Linked DNA regions of Homo sapiens: regions 1, 2, 3, 4, 5 and 7 are each linked to region 6. Evidence: promoter capture Hi-C in 16 types of primary human blood cells and fetal thymus (Javierre and others, 2016). All regions are on one chromosome and are shown on one strand. The core of a region is centred on a gene start or on the middle of the fragment in contact, and the rest is flanking DNA. Distances in the headings are between cores, read along the strand shown.

Region 1 (3,048 bases), core at 335-2,834, 610 kb after region 6:
ATCCTTTCTAATAGTTAAGGAAATAGCAAACTGTAGCCTGTGGACCAAATTTACCCACTGCCTTTTGGATAAAGCCCATGAGCTAAGAATGGTTTTTACATTTTTTAATGGTTGAAAAAAGACAACTGAGTATGGTGGTTCATGCCTGTAATCCCAGCACTTTGAGAGGCTGAGGCGAGCAGATCACTTAAGCCCAGGATTTCAAGATTGCCTGAGCAACACAGGGAGATCCCATCTGACTAAAAATTCAAAAATTAGCTGGTGTAGTGGTACACACCTGTAGTCCCAGCTACTCAAGAGGCTGAGGTGGGGGAATCACTTGAGCCCCGTAGGTGGAGGTTGCAGTGAGCCAAGATTGTGCCACTACACTTCAGCCTGGGCAACAAGAGCAAGACTCTATCTCCACACACACACACACACACAAAAAAAATCAACAAGAAAAATAGTATTTTATGTGAAATGCTATATGTAAATTATGTGAAATTCAAATTTCAATGTCCATATATAACATTTTATTAGAACACAGCCTGCATTGTTGACGAATTGTCTATGACTGCTTTTGTGCTACATCAAGCTTGAGTAGCTGCAACCAAAACTATATGATCTGCAAAAACTAAAATATTTACTAACTGTCTCTTTGCAGAAAATGTTTGCTGACCCTTAAAATAGGCAATGGAAACAAAGATTGCCCGTATCAATACAACGTTAGAACTTGATACTACCTACTGATTGATCTCTACAGGAGATAAATCACTTCTTAGCCATTGTTAATTGCCACTTGTTAACTGGCAGTTAACAATGTCTTTTATGACCAGGAGAATTCAGGCAAATCCCCGTATGACTCTAACAGGCTGTGTTTCGTGTTGTTTCGGTCATTTAAAATTCACATTGCTTCCTTGTTAAGCACGTTTTTACTCAAATGCAGAGTTTCAGCTTAAGTGTCACCCCCTTTGTGGCGTCTTCTCTGGGCTTGGACACCGTTAGCCCATTCCTTCTCTGGGGCAGAGTCTTAAGTAAGCTGCTTTATCACAGCACACCATAGATAGTTACAATTCTCGCTTCTTGTGTCTGCCTCCCCAGTATACTGTGAGTTTCAGAAGCAAGTGCTGTATCCCTGTGGAATGAATAAATCAGTGAATGAATGAGTTATTTCAAAAATAATAAGGCACTTGTAAAGCATCAATAGACTTTCCGTCAGAGAAAATATTTGTCAATCCAAATGCCATTTGAACTCTGTTTTTTGTTCTTAGATATTTCAATTGAAAAGCCAGTGCAAACTGATAACCAAATACAGTACAAATCTGTCCCTAGGTTTGCACGTAGTAGAAAAAATTTCAGAGCACAAAATAGGGTCTGTTCCATTGCCTATTCTGTTGACAAAGAAGAGTCACATAGATTATTGCTTGGTCAGTACTATGCTTCTTGTCCTTGGTCTTAAGTGATGACCTATCTTTCAATGACAATCATGTGAAGGACTTGAAAAATAGGAATAAAACATTGAACAGTAGTGTTTGTTTGTAAGGAATTTACTTGTTACAAGCGTCTGGTACCAGAGTGCCCCCTTTTGGCCATAAGCATAATGAATCTAAATGTTAAGCTACAATGAAGGCTAAGTTGCCCAAAGAACATTGTGCTATGCTAATTAATATATTTTTCAATTTGTTTCATTTTTTGTTTATACCCTTCTTTATCCATTCCATATTGATATGTGGAAACTTTCCAATTATAAAAAGATAAAATTACATAAATAAGGAACTCAAGGTAAGAGAAATTTAGGAATAGCTAAGTAAGATAAAACCAGAAGAGTTTTCTCCTTTAACAAGAAAGGAGAGAAATGACCATAACACACAACTTGTCACTTTCTACTACTTGAAATTTGGCATCAACTGAGTGAGAGCTGGAGACTAAAGATCATCAAAAACGTGTTTGTTGCCAGGGACTTTGTGCCCTGCTATTCAGCTCACAGGGCTGACCCCAGTTCCAGGACCCCTGCCGTGTAGCTGCGGAGAAACTAACTACAATTTAATGATTTCCTGATTTTAAATCACCTTGCACTTTTTAACTGAATACATTTTCACTTCAACCGTACTGGAATATATATATTGGCTACAATGTACACATGTTATACAAATTATGATCAGCATTTAAACAGGGCAAGCATTTTCCTGAACTTTCCTGGCAACCAAAGTTATCTGGTGGCTGAGTATTCTTAAATCCTCATGATGTTGAATAAGTAAATTATTCTGCACAATTCTTTATGCCCAAGATAGTTTCTCAACATACTTCCTGAAGAGAGCAGTGAGGGTAGCCAGCGTCTTTGTAGACTTCATGTTCTGTGTGTCTAAGCCAGAGCCCTTGAACATAGTAGGGGAGGCACTGCATGCTGCTGGGGATATATTAGGTGCCAAGGGTACAATGGGTGTAGGGGAGGTGATAACTTATGTATATTTAAACAAATCTTACATATTTATTTATACATTTTATTTATGAATTGTCTTTATACGTTTATTTTCTGTCCAAGACCACTGACTCTTTGAAATTCATTTCTCTTTCAATACCTGAACTTAAATTTTAGCTCAAAACTGACAGCGAGGCCAAGCTTCCCTCCTTCCCAGTTATGATATAGTATTCCAGCCTCTGAGTGAATTCTAGGCTCTTCACAAGTTTGAGAACTGAGGGATGAATCAGACCTTTATGAAGCCTGGGTTTGGGATATTTCTGATGGCTGATAACAAGTGGAGAATATGTAACTCTTACAAGTTAGTTGGGACTAAAAAGAGTTGATCTGGAAAGATATACATTCTAGTTAATATGTACTCAGTTCAGAGAGAACAACAATATATTTGATGTATGGGTTAATAGGAATAGGAAAATATACAAGTTATACTCACTTACTGGGGACTCCCAGAATCAACCATACAATTGCACGGAGCTGGATGACGGTGAGTGATGGTAATGAGGTACTAGTAAGTAGTAATATCACACACATGATTACACTTAATTCACACAACAACTCTTGTTATAAGTATCATTAGGCCATTTTTAGAT
Region 2 (2,700 bases), core at 187-2,686, 700 kb before region 6:
TGGGGAAAAGGACATATGAAACCCTCCAGACTTTTTCTCTTGGTGCCCTAAAACTTCTGGCTCATTGAGATTAAAAGGATCAAAATGCAATCTTATCCAGGGATAAAAGGCATTTTTACAATTGGAACTCTAAAATAGTATGTCATCCACTTTAGGACAAAGTGGATGGAGAGAATAAGGCATAATATCAAATACAAGTCCCCCAAATAGAAAGTTACAAGGGTGGACAGAATGTGGAAAAAAACTAAGACAAACCAAATGAGAACAAGCAAATTCTATTTATTCAGAGATTGCTATAGCTAGGGAGTCAACCACTGTCACTTGTATTTTGGCAGACACTCCAAGGCAGGCAGAGGAGTAGGAAAGTTTTATTGTAGGAAAAAGGAAAGGCTTCAACTATGCCCCAGTTAGAGGCTGTTGGCATGAGGAAGCTGTAAGCAGGCAAACTAGAAACAGGAATTCCTATGTGATTGGTTAGGGGTACACATTTGGCTTTCTCTGATTTTTTTTTTTTTTTTTTTTTTTTTGAGACAGAGTCTCACTCTGTCCTCAGGCTGGAGTACAGTGGCGCAATCTTGGCTCACTGCAACCTCTGCTTCCTGGGTTCAGGCGATTCTCCTGCTTCAGCCTCCTGAGTAGCTGGGACTACAGGCGTGCGCCACCATGCCCAGCTAATTTTTGTATTTTTTTTTAGTAGAGACTGGGTTTCACCATATTGGCCAGGCTGGTCTCAAACTCCTGACCTCAGGTGATCCACCTGCCTCAGCCTCCCAAAGTGCTGGGATTACAGGCATGAGCCACTGCACCCATCCGGTTTCCTCTGATTGGTCCTAATTTGGAAGCAGGGACAAAAATTAGAAAAGCGGTCAGTTATTAATCAAGTCCTGGCCATATTGGCTTGTTGTCACAGGAAACAACTGTTATTGTTTGGCCTCTTAGACTGTCACTAAAGATCTGTGACTCCCAACAAATCTGACTTACAGCAGACTGTCTCACTGGTTGGCTATTGAAAATAAGTGATTAGTTTCCTGGATAGGTTGCTGCATGTTGTCAATGAAGGAAGGAAGAACTTTACCCTCTTATGTTATTAGGTACCTGGGGCCTGCAAATTAAACTGACAAATATTACAACAGGAAAAACATATACAATTTCATTTGGTGTTAATGTTTTTATATGGCATGGAGGGCTTCACAGAGAAGATGTGAAAACCTCAAAACATGTGGATAGAGAGGTTTATATACCATTTTAACAAAAGGCAATAAATTGTGAAGACATAGGTAGATAAAGGACAGGGGTTTGGGCTTCTACAGGTGGTAAGTTTTTGGAAAGTACCTAGGAAGTATATGAGGAAAACTAATGGAAGATAAGGGCTATATTAATAAGGTTTGTTTGTGCAGACAAACAATCAGTGTCAATTCTCCATTTCCATTGATAAGAATGTTTTCTTTCTGGTTATGGGAGAGCACCTTTCTCATGGGAAATGTATGTCAGGCCAGGTGTGGTGGCTCACACCTGTAATCCCAGCAGTTTGGGAGGCCAAGGCAGGCAGATCACGAGGTCAGGAGATCGAGGCCATCCTGGCTAACACAGTGAAACTGTGTCTCTACTAAAAATACAAAAAATTAGCCAGGCATGGTGGCCGGTGCCTGTAGTCCCAGCTACTCAGGAGGCTGAGGCAGGAGAATGGCGTGAACCTGGGAGGCGGAGCTTGCAGAGATGGCACCACTGTACTCCACCCTGGGAGACAGAGTGAGACTCCATCTCGAAAAAAAAAAAAAAGAAAAAGAAAAAAAAAGAAAAGTGAAGGTCAAGAGGCCATTTGCTGTTTTTCAATTGCCTTCAGTTCAAAATAATCAATATGCTAAAGCAGCGTATTTGGGGGCAACATGTTCTGATCCCCTTCATGGGTCAGAGTTCTGTTGTTATCTATGGTTCAGCCACTGCCCATTTGTATTTCAACTTCAAATTGCAGTCTTTCGATTCCAAATTGCAGATGTACACTTGAGATCACACTCCTTCAGACATGAGCCTGCCCCAGAATGAGGCAGTGAGAATTTACTTACTTTATGATGGCTAATGATTCTTTTGAGCAGACAATTATTTTAGCCAATAATTTTAGCCAATTATTTTGGGTGAGATTAAATAGTAATAAGAAGAAAGCAATGTCACCAACCATTTTCCCTAAGATATGGTGGAAAAAATGATGGTTGCTTCATAACCCTGCAAGGAGTATCTGAATTTCCCAAATTGACACCTGACACCACGTATGCATCCCTTTTTTTTTTTAAACAGGGTCTCACTTTGTCACCTAGGCCAGAGTGCGGTGGCATGAACACAGCTCACTGCAGCCTTGACCTCCTAGGCTCAAGCGATCTTCCCACCTCAGCCGCTTAGTAGCTGGTACTACAGGAATGCACCACCACACCTGGCAAGTTTTTGTATTTTTTGCAGAGATGAGGTCTCACTATGTCACCTAGACTGGTCTCGAACTCCTGGGCTCAAGAAATCCACCTGCCTCAACCTCCCAAAGTACTGGGATTATAGGTTTGAGCCACCATGCCTGGCCCCCCATATGCACCCCTAATGGATAGAATTTGAAACTTGAAAAAATGGAGAAATTTAGCCGATTATTTTGGGCAGGAGTGCTTTCCCCATAATTAGGCTGTCTTCTGCCAGATTCTTTTAGGAGCCAACCCTAAG
Region 3 (2,700 bases), core at 169-2,668, 570 kb after region 6:
CAGTAGAATGTCAGAGAAGGGATAAATCATTAAGAGAAAGAGTCACCAAATGAGACTTCAAGGAGGAGGTAAGACTTTTTCTTGACCTTCGAATGAGCAGAATAAAGAGCATACTGATTGAAGGCAAACATGGGCTGACATAGAGCACTGCCCTGAAGTTCAGTGAGAAGACTGTCTTTCCCAGGAGGCAACACATCTGTGTGTCAGGAATGGTGGTGAAGCTGGTTGGATAGCATGCAGCCAGTTTAAGCAGGATCTTAAAGACATGGTATGTTTGGATGTGATACCACAGACAATGCACAGATAGGATTTAACATGAGTGAAATGGCATTTTAAGGTGATTTTAATCCGTTGTTGACAAAATGAAGAAAGAATTGATTAGAGCCAGGGAAAAAGAGGCACAGCAAGTTTGTGATGATCAATGAATGTGATCACAAAAGTCTAGACATGCAATATAATTTAAAAATAGATTAAAGGAGGCCGGGGGTGGTGGCTCATGCCTATAATCCCAGCTCCCAGCACTTTGGGAGGCAGAGGCAGGCAGATCACAAGGTCAGGAGATCGAGACCATCCTGGCCAACATGGTGAAACCCTGTCTCTACTAAAAATACAAAAAAATTAGCTGGGCATGGTGGCATGCGCCTGTAGTCTCAGCTACTCAGGAGGCTGAGGCAGGAGAATTTTTTGAACCCGGGAGGCAGAGGTTGCAGTGAGCCGAGATTGCACCACCACTGCACTCCAGCCTGGTGACAGAGCGAGACTCCATCTCAAAAAAAAAAAAAAAAAAAAAGATTAAAGGAAAAGGTAACGAGTTTTTAAAAGATATGCTCTCTGGGACTGAGAAATAAGGGAAGAGCCTCAGAATTGTGACTGAGGAACAATTCTGTAGTGTGCATTTTTAAAAAAGAAAAGCCTAGGCTCAGCCTAACTAATCATTCATCTATGCCCCCAAACAACTTCACACTTGGTTCTATAGATTCAAGTTCCACATGAGTCAGAATCCCTAAAGGACATAATCCTATTAGCAAAGGCAGTTATAAAGGAAGTGAGAAGTGGAAATTGACCTCTGTGTTTCATTAGCAGTCTTCCTCAGAGCAGAAGTGGGACAATACAATGCCTGGAGGACTGGACAATTCATTGCAAGTGAAAAAGGGCTCCTGACACCTATTGTGAATTTTGCTTGCCTAAGAAGAACTCATCTCTTTCCTCCTTCAACTCTTCTGCCTAACCTTGTCAAGTTGCTGCAGGAAAGAAACATGCTTCTTTTTAGTTGGACACAAGTTTAGGAGATCTGTGATAAATCATGGCAAGAATGATTTTGACATACTTCTTGGTCCTGGGCAGAGTCACAATGATGATATTCTAGAAACAAGGTTCAAATCTTTCCACACAAAGATGTGTACCTGTCAAAGCAGTGAAATGGCTGACAGGACTTTTTCAAGCACCTCTAAAGGACAGGAGCTGGAGAACAGACTTAGGAGAGTGGGGCAGAAAATGAAAAATCCAAGTAACAAGCAGGAAGAAACCTACAACAGTGGGTAGTCGTCTGACAGGCGCATATAGGTGGATGGAGGATGCTGTTATGTGAACCTAGCAGCAAGGTACAATATGTCCAAATAAGCAATGTCAGGGGGTCTGAGAGCAGGTAACAGGGACCCCAGCTTAAAACCTTGAGTTCAGGCACAGCACTCTGCATACTGGGGGACCTAGAGGGAAAGACAACATCCAAAAGACAGGGTCACAAGCAGAAGACCAGGAGACATTCAGGAATGGAGAATGAGACAGCAGATGACTATTAGAATTGAGGAACAGGCAGGGTTTTTTGGTCTCAAGAGAGCAATGCCAGTGACTCAATTACTAGAAATAAGTATGAAAAGGACAGACAACACAGCTTCCTTTACGAATGGATTTATTTATTATTAAGATAAAATGTCTAAGATAAAAAATTTATCTAATGTTTTATTAATCTTCCAATCCCCTCCTATCAATTCTTTTCTTAAAAAATTATATTATCAGCCAGGCACGGTGGCTCACACCTGTAATCCCAATACTTTGGGAGGCCAAAGTGGGTGGATTGCTGGAGCCCAGGAGTTTGAGACCAACTTGAGCAACATGGCAAAACTCCATCTCTGCAAAAAATGCAAAAATAAGCCAGGTAGTCCCAGTTACTTGGGAGTCGAGGCAGGAGGATCACTTGAGCCAGGGAAGATGAGGCTTCAGTGAGCTGTGTTCGCACTACTGCACTCCAGCCTGGGTGACAGAGTGAGACCCCCGCCTCAAAAAAAAAAAAAAATGATACTATCTGTTTAGCTTTATCTTTTTAAATTTTGACTAAATTTTCAAGCAGCCATTTTTCTGTCTGAATTGTTCCAGATAGTTTCCAGAGAAAGGAAGACAGGTTGTTGGCTAAATACCAAACTGCATCTCATCATTAGAAGGAAGCACACCAAATTTCATTTTTCTCCACCTTTATTAAGTGCAGATTTTTGTTTCTCATCCAGGAAGTTCTGTATTATCAGGGCAATGCTAACTTCAGTATAAATGACACAGAAACTATTAATAGATTATGACTATGATGAAACTGAAGTAGAAAACAGAAGTGTTCTGAAAAGAGAAGTAAAAAAATGGAAGGGGGAAAAGGCAAAGTATTCTGCCTTCCAAGTTAGATAGCTATCTTTATGAAAGGACATATTTCAAAGG
Region 4 (2,774 bases), core at 139-2,638, 740 kb before region 6:
ACTCGCCTGGCAGCCACTCCCAGAGCCCCTGGAACTCTGGCCCCAGGCTCTCTGACTGACTCCTTCCCAGATCTTCTCAGCTCAGCGGCTGAAGACTGACACTGCCGATTACCTTGGAAGCCTCCTGGACCATCACAGACACTTTGGGTAACTCGTACAGTGGAGGGTAAATCCGTCCCCTTCTTCATCAATATGGAGGCTATCCACTCCACATTACCTTCTTTTCAAGGGCCTGTTTCCCTTGCCTCCATAACTGTTGTTGGTATTGATGGCCAGGCTTCTAAACCTCTTAAAACTTCCCAACTCTGGTGCCAACTTGGACATTATTTTATGCACTCCTTTTTAGTTATCCCCACCTGCCCAGCTCCCTTATTAGGTCGAGACATTTTAACTAAATTATCTGCTTCCCTGACTATTCCTGGGCTATAGCCACACCTTATTGCCACCCTTTTCCCCAGTTCAAAGCCTCCTTCACATCCTCCTCTCATGTCTCCCTACCTTAATCCACAAATATGGGATACCTCTACTCCCTCCTTGGTGACCGATCAGGCACCCTTTACCATCCCATTAAAACCTAATCACCCTTACCCCACTCAATGCCAATATCCCATCCCACAGCAGGCTTTAAAAGGGTTAAAGCCTGTTATCACCCGCCTGTTACCACATGGCCTCTTAAAGCCTACAGATTCTCCTTACAACTCCCCTATCCTACCCATCCAGAAACCGGACGAGTCTTACAGGTTGGTTCAGGATCTTCGCCTTATTAACTTAATTGTCTTACCTATCCATCCTGTGGTGCCAAACCAATAAACTCTCCTATCCTCAATACCTCCCTCCACAACTCATTACTCCATTATTGACCTCAAAGATGCTTTCTTCACTATTCCTTTGCACCCCTCATCCCAACCTCTTTTTGCTTTCACATGGGCTGACCCTGACACCCACCAATCTCAGCAACCCACCTGGACTGTACTGCTGCAAGGCTTCAGAGACAGCCCCCATTACTTTAGTCAAGCTCTTTTTCATAATTTACTTTCTTTCCGTCCATCTGTTTCTCACCTTATTCAATATATGGACGTACCTTCTTGTTCAGCCCCAACCTCGTGACAGACACCAGCCCTCTAGGTGACTGTCTTCCAGTCCTCCAGCAGGCTAGACAGGAAATTCACCAGGCTGCTAATCTTCTCTTGCCTACTCCAGACTCCCAGCTATATGAAGACACCCTAGCTGGATGATCAGTTCTTGTTACAAATCTGACCCCTCAAACTCTACAACCTTGACGGACCGGACCCTACTTAGTCATCTATAGTACCCCAATTGCCATCCACCTGCAGGACCCTCCCCATTGGGTTCACCATTCCAGAATAAAGCTGTGTCCCTCGGACAGCCAGCCTGATCTCTCCTCTTCCTCTTGGAAGTCACAAGTACTCTCCCCTACTTCCCTTAAACTCACATTTCTGAAGAACAGTAATAACCCTTATGAGCCTAATACATCCCTTCATTCTATTAGGTCTATTGGTCCTTACCCTGCTTTTTACAACAGGGCTTTACGCAATCACCCCCACTACTTGGACTGCACCCCAAAAACTTGTCATTCCTACTATCTTCTGTCTAATCATACTCCTATTCACCATTCTCAACTACTCGCAAATGCCCTGCCCTTGTTTACACTGCCAGTTTACACTTTTCCTCCAAACCATCATAACTGATATCTCCTGGTTTTACCTCAAACCACCACCCTTAACTCTCTCTTGGAGTGGATAGAAGATCTTCAGTGGCAAGGTACACTCCAATTCTATCCTGATGAAGTCCTTTTTTTACTTTTCTACTCACTCTTATCCTTGCCCCCATTCTCCAGTCACTCTCTACCTCTCCCTAGTTACCTCCAGCATACTATCAATCTCACCCACTCTCTCCTCACTGCCTCCAATCCTTCTCTAGCAAAGAATTGTTGGCTATGCATTTCCCTTTCTTCCTGCTCTTATACAGCCATCCCCGCTCTACAGGCCAACTGGGCTACCTCTCCTGTCTCCCTGCACCTCCAACCTTCCTTTAATAGCCCTCATCTTTACCCATCTGAGGAACTTCTTTACTTTCTAGACAGATTAGGTGAGAACTCCCCAGACATTTCGCACCAACGAGCTGCCACACTTCTCAACATCTACTTATGGCACCTTTCTCCTTATGTCAATTCCACCCTTGCCCCCATATTTGGACCCCTAACCACACAAACAACTATCCCTATTGCCATTCCTTTATGCATCTCCTGACAACAGCCTACTGGAATCCCTTTAGACAACCTTCCACCGTCCAAATGTTCCTTTACTCTTTATCTCCAGAACCCAGCCACACACATTACCAAACAGATGGGAGCATTCCAACTTCACATTACTGATAAGCCTCTATCATTACTGACAAACTAAAAAACATTGGCAGTCACTATTGTTTAGGAAGACACCTACCCTGCATCTCACTCCAGCCTTGGCTACCCTCCCCCTGCTCATCTGACTCTCCTCCTAGCCCCTCCTCTTGCTTGCTTATACCCAGCCCCATGAATAACAGTGAAAGGTTACTCGTAGACACTATGTGCTTTCTCATACACCATGAGAACCGAACCTCTGCCTCCATGCAGTTGCACCATCAATTCCCATTACAACCTCTAATGGCTGCTGCCCTTGCTGGGATTCTGGGCACAGGTCTCCTCTTTCAGTACACCCTCTCACCTTTTCACTTTACATTTCCAGTTCTGCCTGACACAAGGTCTCTTCTTTTTA
Region 5 (3,024 bases), core at 474-2,973, 940 kb after region 6:
TGGGCACCTAATGTGAGGTGTCTCAGTAAGAGGATGTTAGAAACTACATAGGATTTGGGCCTGTCGTAGGTGATTTGGGGAAAGTTCAAGGAAGGATCTGGACTGGATGATGGTAGGAACTGGTGATAGTAGTGCATCTTAATTCTTATCTAAAACATAGGAATGGAGTGAAGCTAGAACTGATTGGTAAAGAAGTCATAATAGCTAGGATAGGGGCTATTTGAACAATATTCATGGTTTTCTATTATCAGACATGATTATGATTATGTTTTTGTTGATTCATTGTGGTCACAATGGCCTTGGCTGATGCTGTGCTGTGAAATTGTATACGTTTAACCAGGGAAAACCATGGTCCAGTTGTGAGTTTCAGGCCAGCTCCAGGCTTTCAGGGCCTGCTTTTCTCTTTTTCAAGGTTAATATAAAAAAGAAAAGTGCTATAGTATGTATGAGTAAGATCTACACACATCCGAAACATTCAACAGTGGCTGTGTGTGGACAAGGCTGAAAGCTCAATGTAGAGGAGTATACAAATATTACTATTCCTATTTAAAACAGCTCAGTAATTACTGTGTGAACTTGACAATAACATTAACAGCTTCCATTTTTTAAGTATCTACTGTATGCCATGTTATGTACTAGGTGCCTTGCATACATTCAACAGCTTTGCAAGGTGAACATATTTTGATCATCTCCACTTTACAGGTAAGTAGACAGACTATTATTTCCAGAACTGCCAAGTTACATTTATTAAATGGAAGAGCTGGTATATTAATGGGTTCAGCTCATTTTGAGCTCACTGTATTTCCCCTATACCAGGATGCCTTTCTATTCAGAACTTTGATGTCTAAAGTTACAGCAATGGAGATAAAATACATTATTGGCAGGATTGTTCAGAGACTCAAATGCTATCATACATCTATATATGATGTATGAAAGCACCTAGCACAATAACTGGCTCATGGTAGACAAATCATAACTAACTGTACTGTTTTCATAGCAGAGGTGCCTCTAAACGTGAGTACAGATAAGTTAACTATATTGAGATTGTGGAGTGACTCGACGATTTTAACCTCTTGGTCACAGAGAAATCAGGCTGAAGCATTTTACCTTTATAGAATCATAGTATTTTGAAGAACCAAGAAATTGTCAAGGTCTTCTTTTACAGATGAGAAAAATGAAGCTCGGAAAAGCAGTTAATTTGCCCAGGGTCACACATTTAATTATTGCCCGAGCTTGGCTAAGAAACCAGGTCTTCTGACTCCTAAGCCCTTGCCTTCTTCAGGCCACATAGCTGCTTCTTTTCATGATGTGTAGATTAGAAAAGTCAGTGTGCCCCGGGGCCCTTGATTGCACCTTGGTTTCCCTAACAAGGATATGGGATCCCTGCTGACATTTCAGACCTTAAGTTGCAGAGCTCTGCACTTGGATCTTCTTCCTTCTTGTTATATAATCTTACAGTTAAAAGTTTCTAGGAATATTTTTATTACGTGCAATTGGCAACTTCAGTATTTTTTAAAGGGTGTTGGTAGCATTATTTCCGGGAGCTACTTAGCGCTCCGGTTCGGTACCTCGTGGAGAAGACGGGGGAGGGGAGCAGCGAGATTTCCTTGCGGAGCAATATTCCTAGGGTACAGACCTCGTAGCCCGGGCCCGCGACTCCGCCCCGGGAGCGGGCAGGGGCGGGGCGAGCGCTCCAGCTGGCGGGAAGGAGGAAGGGCCGGGCGCGGCGCAGAGGCGGGCGCCTACCAGCCGGCAGCTCCGGAGCTGCCCGCGCCATGTCCGCGCACAATCGGGGCACCGAGCTCGGTAAGGGGCCCGCGGGGCTCCCCATCCCCTCTCCCTCGCGTTCAGCGCCGCCGGGACTAGCGCGGGGCCTGCTGCCGCCCAGTGCCCTGGCTGTGGGTCCCCGAGGGGTTTTCGCTGGGGCGGGAAGCAGTGGCGTCTGGTCAGCCCTCACCCCAAGTAAAGGCCGAACCCGGCACGTTCGCGCCGCTTGTCTTTGCACCTAAGCTTTTACTCTTGTATGCGGAAGGAGTAGGAAAGGGTTAGATTATTATCTTCCTGCCTTTTCGTTCACTCTAGCTCGCTGGTTGGAAAACCCAACAACCCAAAAAACAAAACCCAAAACAAACAACCCCCAAGCAGGTAAAAACAGATAAAAACCTTCTTTCTCCTCCTTTTAATAGAATACTTGTGTAATTTAATGCAGTATTTCCGTAGATAATTTTAACCGTAACCTTGAAGTGGCCGTGCTCGTGGAAAAGTTGTCAGCCGTCTGTGCTCAAAATGTAACACTGCAGATTCATGGGATTTTAGAGTTACAAAGATTTGTTAAAGTACCTGTATTATTTCCCAGTTTTCATCTTTTTTTATATTGTTCAAATACTGGCAAGAAACCTTAGTTCAGATTTCTTTTTTTTTTTTTTTTATTGATCATTCTTGGGTGTTTCTCGCAGAGGGGGATTTGGCAGGGTCATAGGACAGTAGTGGAGGGAAGGTCAGCTGATAAACAAGTGAACAAAGGTCTCTGGTTTTCCTAGGCAGAGGACCCTGCGGCCTTCCGCAGTGTTTGTGTCCCTGGGTACTTAAGATTAGGGAGTGGTGATGACTCTTAACGAGCATGCTGCCTTCAAGCATCTGTTTAACAAAGCACATCTTGCACCGCCCTTAATCCATTTAACCCTGAGTGGACACAGCACATGTTTCAGAGAGCACAGGGTTGGGGATAAGGTCACAGATCAACAGGATCCCAAGGCAGAAGAGAATTTTTCTTCAGATTTCTTAACATGTGAAAAATTTATAATTCAAACAGCAAAACCATGATCAAGAGAAGGTTTAAGCGTCTCGTTTAAGTATTATAGCTTGGATATCTGTGTATCCAGGATCTTTAACTTCTTACCTGTGTGACTTCGGACAAATTAATAACTTTGCGCTTAAGTTTCTTCATCTGTAAAATGGTTATTTTAGTGGTAGTTACCTTATAAGGCCGTTAGGAGATTAAATAGGATACATGTAAAGTAGTTT
Region 6 (3,009 bases), core at 14-2,513:
GAGGGAGCAGAGGGACTCATCCAGAGACCAAACACTTTCCTGGCTTTGCAAGGTAATCATTGCTTTCAAAACTCAGAGGAATTTTGGTAAAGACCAGTGGAGAGCATATGAATGACTCTCAAGCTGTCTAGTTGCTCATGTAATCTGCTTAGGGCTGCAGGTTAAGAACCTCTCCCTGTCTAGAAAGGATAAATTGACCTTCTTTCTCTGTAATGTTATGGAGTGTAATTTTCTAATAGGTAACAACTGGGGAAAGAACATTGAAATTCACTGGCAAGGCATGGAAGTGACCAGCAAACAGACATCTTGGTCTCTGTCTGCTTTGATGTAGTGCAGCACAAAGACAATTGAATATGCAAGGTACTTCCAGATTTGGGCCCTGTTCCTGGCTCCACTATTAATTTTATTTGCAGTCTTGAATAGGTCACTTAATCTTTCTATGATAAATTTATCAAAAGAGCTTACTGATAACTACCATATGGGTTGAGATCTATTTAAAATACAAAAAGTATTAATCTATTAATAATTAATACTAGTGGATCAATAAAATAGGAAGACTGAGTCAAGGAGTCTCAGTAAATTGGATTGTACCCTAGACCCTACACCCTGAAACATTTAGGTACGGAAGATCCAGCAATCGATTCTCAAATAAGTGTCCTCAGTTAACAATTCCTAGCTGTCATTTGGGCCCTTTCTGTGTCAGATATCAGTTTTGACTCTGAGGTTCCATCTCTCTGAGGAAATTCGCACAATACCAGTTAGGGAGACATACTGTGTGTTTCCCAATGTCACTGCCCGCATGTTCAATGTCCCTGTATAGCAGGAGGCACTGTGGCTCCCTCTCTTCTCTCCAGTTATCTAGAGCCCCATAAGAATTATGTCACTGTGTATATGTGTGTGTGTGATTGCGCACATAGGTGTGTGTTTGTCAGAGAAAGGGAAGAAATGGGGGTATTGAAATCTAAAGGTAAGAATAAAAAAAAGACAGAAGATATTGAATCACAAACTGAAATTTACCCTTGGATATCAACACTTTTTGTGTTTTTGTGAATACAATACCTATTTATTGACTGGAATGAACCCAAGTCAGTTTTGAAAGGGCCTCTAATTATTGGAAAACTCCTAAGCCTGTCCCAGCATCAACCCATGTTCTCCTAACTTCTTTGCACCTGGGTTGCTGTTCTGAGCTTATGACGGTGAGATTAGGCAGCATGAGGGTATTACAGAGAGATAAGTCAGGATGCAAAGATCCTTTTGTCTTTTGCAAAGAAGGCAGCTGGGCAGCTGATAGGAACAACATTCAGCTCCGTGAGTACTTCTGAACTTCTGGTGAATTTGAGCAGGATAATTGAAGGGCTTTGGGGGGTTGATCAGGTTCCAAAAGAAAAATTGCAGAAGAAAACATGTTGGACCTGTGGGCCTGGGCTGTGGCTGGGGATGAAAATGGGAAAGAACATGAAGGAGATACATGCAGACCTTCTTGTTATGCCATGGGACAAGCAAATAAGTGAAACTTGATTATTACAAGGTCACTGCAAAACTTGATTACTGAATTCATTTAGAAGGAGCCCAATAGTGACCTCCCTGTTTGCAGCTTCATAGTAAACAGTTTTCTGAAGAAGGAGGAATCTGTGGCACTAAATAACCACAGAGAAAACAGTTCTTTACTCCCAGGATGTGCCTGCAAACTTGGCCCAGGATGGTGTGAGTGTGAGGAAAAGGAGAAGGGGAGCTGAGAGCATGAGAATGACCACAGGGCAGGGCAGGTGGCTGAGCCTTCTCCCTTTGAGGTCAAGTGTTTGTTCCATTCTGAAGCAGGGTGCTGGCTGGAATTTTGGTAATTTTTTTTTTATGGCTTTGGTTTGGGTCTTGCTTTGCTTTTCAAATTATTGATTTTCTCTGCCTCAGCAGGACCCTGGGTGATATTTATGGGCTCAACCCCAGCAGTACTTCCCTTCCCAGCTCCTTCCTGCCTCTTTCTTTGTCCACCAACAATGGACTGGTCTACCTGTCTATAGCTTTGCTGAGAAAAAGAGAACTGGAAGTGTAAGGTGATAACAGCAGCATCAGAGAGCTGTCTCAGGAACCTCCTAAAACTGCTTTTCAGAGGATCATCCTCTGTCACTATATAGAGCTGGGCTTTGCTGTATAAAGAAACAGAAGATGATTTTTTGCTTTATACAAATCTTTAACTTTGTTAAGTTGACCCTAATCCCAGTCCCCTAAAAAAGTATGCCTTGAAATATTACTTTGCTGCATCCACTTATTTCTGCAGAAAAACAGTTTGTAATCTTCAAAAGGGGAAGGGCTAACATTGCTTTAAATACAGGAAAATGTTCTGGCTCACAAAAGAATAAATTGCCTAATGCTTTTGGAGGAAAAAATATGAAACTTCTTTCAGCTAAAATCAAGTCTGATAATACATTTAAGGTTACTCAGCTCCAGATGCCCTTAGAATTTCTAGAAAGGTGTGGTCAGCATGAGGTTAGCCTTTGGTGATGTTTATGGACAACAGGACTGGCTTCCAATGCAGGAAAAGGTCAGAGGTGTTCTACCCTTCCTAAAGGTTTTGCAGAGAGAATTGGAGGGTAAATCTATGACAGAAACTGCATAGGGATTAGTCGACTGTTCCGGTTACCTAGTGCAAATCCTGAGCACCATTAGGATCAAGGGATTAACCTGGCAACTGTTATGTAACTCTTTCTGAGGAGGCTTCTTTCATATAATGCATCATACTCAGACATGAACACTTTCTAAGCCTAGAGGTGTAACTTCAAAATTATGTAAAAATGCAAAAGAAACTTGCAAGAAAAAAGGGGATGTATCATTGGGGAATATGGATGTCACGTGTGATTTTTAAATTCTTCGGGGTTGCTGTTGGGGTGTCAAAGGAATTCAAGGAAAGCTTCTTAAGACAGAATTTTAAGACCAGAAATAAGTTAACAGTCGGGGTGTTTGAAGGAAGCAGAGAATTACCCAGCGAGGGCAGATGATAATTGCCCCTCTGGT
Region 7 (2,752 bases), core at 249-2,748, 730 kb after region 6:
ACACAAAAAACTGTCCTTAAAATCCTGTGTGTATATACACACACACATACATATACATGTGTGTATATTTTTTAAAATTTGAAGTAGGTTAACATTGTATTCTACTTTAATAAAGATCAAGAAACACAATCTCTAATTTACAAAAGCAATAAACTGAACTGCATCTTGAAGGAAAAAAAAGCTCGCTGGTCTAGTTTTATACCAACTCCTATTTTCTGGTCCAGTTCTAACATTATCTGGCAGGCACTTTTGCAAATTCCATTTCTCACTGATTCTTAATTTTTACCTTAGTCAAACAGAGTAGGACTCCTTGCTTCACCCCTACACACTGATCTCAGTCTACTGAGGAGATAAAATAAGAAAATGAATACATGACATTACTTTTAAAATATTCAATGATTTGTAATAGATATATTGTTTCATGAACACATGTGAAATCACTCAAAAAATTTTCAGTGTCTATTTTTCACTTTTTAATTGAGCTTTTAAACAATCTAATATGCATATAAGTTTGGGTAAAACATTCATTCAACAAAATAACACCCACTAGTACTCCAAGGGGTTTAAAAAAAATCTGTTCAATAAGGTGATTTCAACAAATTTTAACGGCAATTGGAGAAGAAAACATTTAGATCTTGTTTTCATAATTAACTAATCCATTATTAAATCCCATACAAAATATCAATAATTATAAAATGATGCTAATTAAAGTACTTAACACTCATTTAAAAAGCAAAATAAACACATGAATGTACCTTCCTTTTAAAAAGTTATTGACATTTTATGGCAAATCAGTTGTTGACTGCAATAGTTAGAATACCCTCTTGGAAATGAGCCCAGTGACATTGTTTTCCTCACTGTTCAAAACTTCCAACTCTTAGCAAACACTAACCTCAACGGCTAGCCAATATTACCCTTTTCGTAAGGAAAAACAGACTTATGATATCCAGTAGAAAGACATTAAAACCCTCAATGTTTGATATCATTAACTAAAGTTCACTAAAGTTTAAGCTTATGTAAAACATACACAAGTATCATTATTAAATTCTTGTACAATCAGAGGCACATGTGTTGCTGCTACCACCTATCAGCTATTTTTTTTTTAACTCAAAGAAGGCTAACATTCAAGAATGACCCTGAATCTATTTTCTTTCCTTCTGTCTCCAAATCCCAGTCTTCTCCTCACCTAAGGTTACTCTCTCTAATTCTGCAAACCAGTATGGTAAACATCTTGTAAAATGGTCCCTCCCATTGAGACAGCTAAGTGGGAGGGGATCCCTGGCAAAGCTCCTGCCGGCCTGTGCACTGGGGTGGAGCCTGAGCAAGTTTGCACCTTTGCAGAGGGGAGGAGCCTGGCCTTGCCTTTTCCTGCGTGGAACCTGGGATTCAAAAGGCAAGGCGGGAAGCACTGCAGCATTGACAATGCCAAGTTCTTCCTTCCTCGAGGCCTATCACACTTGTCTAGAATAATTATCTTTTATATCTTTGCCTATCTAAATCTTGTATCTCAGCTTAAATGGCCCCTTCTTGGGAAACCATTCCCTGACTCCCAATCTATCCTAGATTTCTACATTACATGTTTTCACAGCACTCTGAAATTCTCTTCATAAATCTTTACTGTTAGACATTTGGGCCAATATTTGCTTAATATCTGCATTTCAAAAATAAAGTACTAGCTGGTATACTTTCTATTGAAGCAAAACACACTTTTGTATTTTGCATTTTCTTTCAAAAACATCTTGAATCTCATCTTTCTTTTAGGTGAATATTACATTTTTAATATGAGACTAGAATTTTCTGTTCTTTATATTTTATGTTTTTTTTTACAACTTATCCAAAGATATTCTTCCTTGGGCAAATTTTGTAATAAAATGACACAATTCTCCAACCTACTCTATTGTCTATGTGTACAAGTTTTTTTTCTATTTTACATACTAACTAAATTTATACAAATGCCCATATTTGATATCTAGTTAGCAAGCCAGACAAGCTTACATTTCAGTCCTTATTAAATGTAAAACTTTAGGCTTACTTAGCCTCTATGAGCCTAGTTTCTTCATTTGTAAAGTGGTTATAGTATCTCTCAAGGTTAAGAACAATCGAAGTATGCAAAACCCCTATAGCAAAAGAGCAGGCTAAATACATGACAGTTCTTTCCTCCATGTGGGAAAAAGGCACATGTTTGAAAATGTAGCCCCATGAAATATTACACTTTACAGTACCTAATCCAATTTCCTAAAAGGGAACAAGTCTAACTTTTTTCTTCATGGTATGTATTTCAGGTCAGGGGTTGACAAACTTTCGGTAAAGAGCCAGGTTATAAATATTTTAGGCTTTGTGGGCCACATACAGTCTCTGTCAATATTCTTCATTTTTGTTTTTAATAACCTACCAAAAATGTAAAAAGCATTCTCAGCTTGTAGAAAGAAAACAGCCCAATGGCTAGAGTTTGCTGACCCTCTGCTTTGAGTTCATCATTACTCATCGATTCTACCCTTACTTTTCCTATTACTTCACCTTAATCAATACCCAACTGAACAACTACTCTCCTTACTATTTATTAAGCTTTCAGTATAACAAACACTAATCAAGTACTTGCTTATCTGTAAGGGCCTGTAAGGTAACTCACTACCTTAAAAAAAAAAAAAATCACATGCTACAAAACAAATACAAATAAATCCTTCCGAAGTCTTCCTCTGGTATCGCCTTGCTCTTCCCTCTGATTTCTGAGCGTATTACTACTAGTGATTTA

Evidence for each region. Contacts are between HindIII fragments. The CHiCAGO score rates a contact against its expected background, and 5 or more counts as called.
Region 1: a contact is called between a fragment that was not itself captured here and the fragment with the promoter of PDE6H in region 6, in 1 of 17 cell types (M0 macrophages). The highest score is 5.2, in M0 macrophages.
Region 2: a fragment that was not itself captured here is called in contact with the fragment with the promoter of PDE6H in region 6 in 1 of 17 cell types (neutrophils); the score reaches 6.2 in neutrophils.
Region 3: a fragment that was not itself captured here is called in contact with the fragment with the promoter of PDE6H in region 6 in 1 of 17 cell types (M1 macrophages); the score reaches 5.2 in M1 macrophages.
Region 4: a fragment that was not itself captured here is called in contact with the fragment with the promoter of PDE6H in region 6 in 2 of 17 cell types (neutrophils and total CD8 T cells); the score reaches 11.9 in neutrophils.
Region 5: a contact is called between the fragment with the promoter of DERA here and the fragment with the promoter of PDE6H in region 6, in 6 of 17 cell types (naive CD8 T cells, total CD8 T cells, activated CD4 T cells and 3 more). The highest score is 7.2, in naive CD8 T cells.
Region 7: a contact is called between a fragment that was not itself captured here and the fragment with the promoter of PDE6H in region 6, in 1 of 17 cell types (M1 macrophages). The highest score is 5.1, in M1 macrophages.

What each region holds. Positions count from the first base shown.
Region 1 is chr12:15,583,077-15,586,124 of GRCh38, forward strand. The region is part of intron 23 of PTPRO (protein tyrosine phosphatase receptor type O); the gene reads left to right. Among named protein-coding and RNA genes, the nearest start is that of EPS8, 200 kb to the right of the region's middle. The HindIII fragment of the contact is 2,025 bases long and covers 573-2,597 here.
Region 2 is chr12:14,269,338-14,272,037 of GRCh38, forward strand. No RefSeq gene overlaps it. Among named protein-coding and RNA genes, the nearest start is that of ATF7IP, 95 kb to the right of the region's middle. The HindIII fragment of the contact is 5,994 bases long and covers 1-2,700 here.
Region 3 is chr12:15,543,738-15,546,437 of GRCh38, forward strand. All of the region lies in intron 12 of PTPRO (protein tyrosine phosphatase receptor type O), which reads left to right. The region is part of intron 1 of LOC105369672 (a long non-coding RNA gene); the gene reads right to left. Among named protein-coding and RNA genes, the nearest start is that of PTPRO, 220 kb to the left of the region's middle. The HindIII fragment of the contact is 8,324 bases long and covers 1-2,700 here.
Region 4 is chr12:14,232,959-14,235,732 of GRCh38, forward strand. No RefSeq gene overlaps it. Among named protein-coding and RNA genes, the nearest start is that of ATF7IP, 130 kb to the right of the region's middle. The HindIII fragment of the contact is 7,894 bases long and covers 1-2,774 here.
Region 5 is chr12:15,909,609-15,912,632 of GRCh38, forward strand. DERA (deoxyribose-phosphate aldolase) reads left to right here and starts at 1,724. Exons shown (of 9, transcript NM_015954.4): 1 at 1,724-1,806. The coding sequence starts at 1,776. RefSeq lists enhancers at 1,414-2,158, 2,159-2,902 and silencers at 1,582-1,641, 1,662-2,011. The HindIII fragment of the contact is 2,953 bases long and covers 1-2,008 here.
Region 6 is chr12:14,971,779-14,974,787 of GRCh38, forward strand. PDE6H (phosphodiesterase 6H) reads left to right here and starts at 1,264. Exons shown (of 4, transcript NM_006205.3): 1 at 1,264-1,308. The HindIII fragment of the contact is 3,244 bases long and covers 1-2,903 here.
Region 7 is chr12:15,704,920-15,707,671 of GRCh38, forward strand. The region is part of intron 1 of EPS8 (EGFR pathway substrate 8, signaling adaptor); the gene reads right to left. Among named protein-coding and RNA genes, the nearest start is that of EPS8, 83 kb to the right of the region's middle. The HindIII fragment of the contact is 979 bases long and covers 1,010-1,988 here.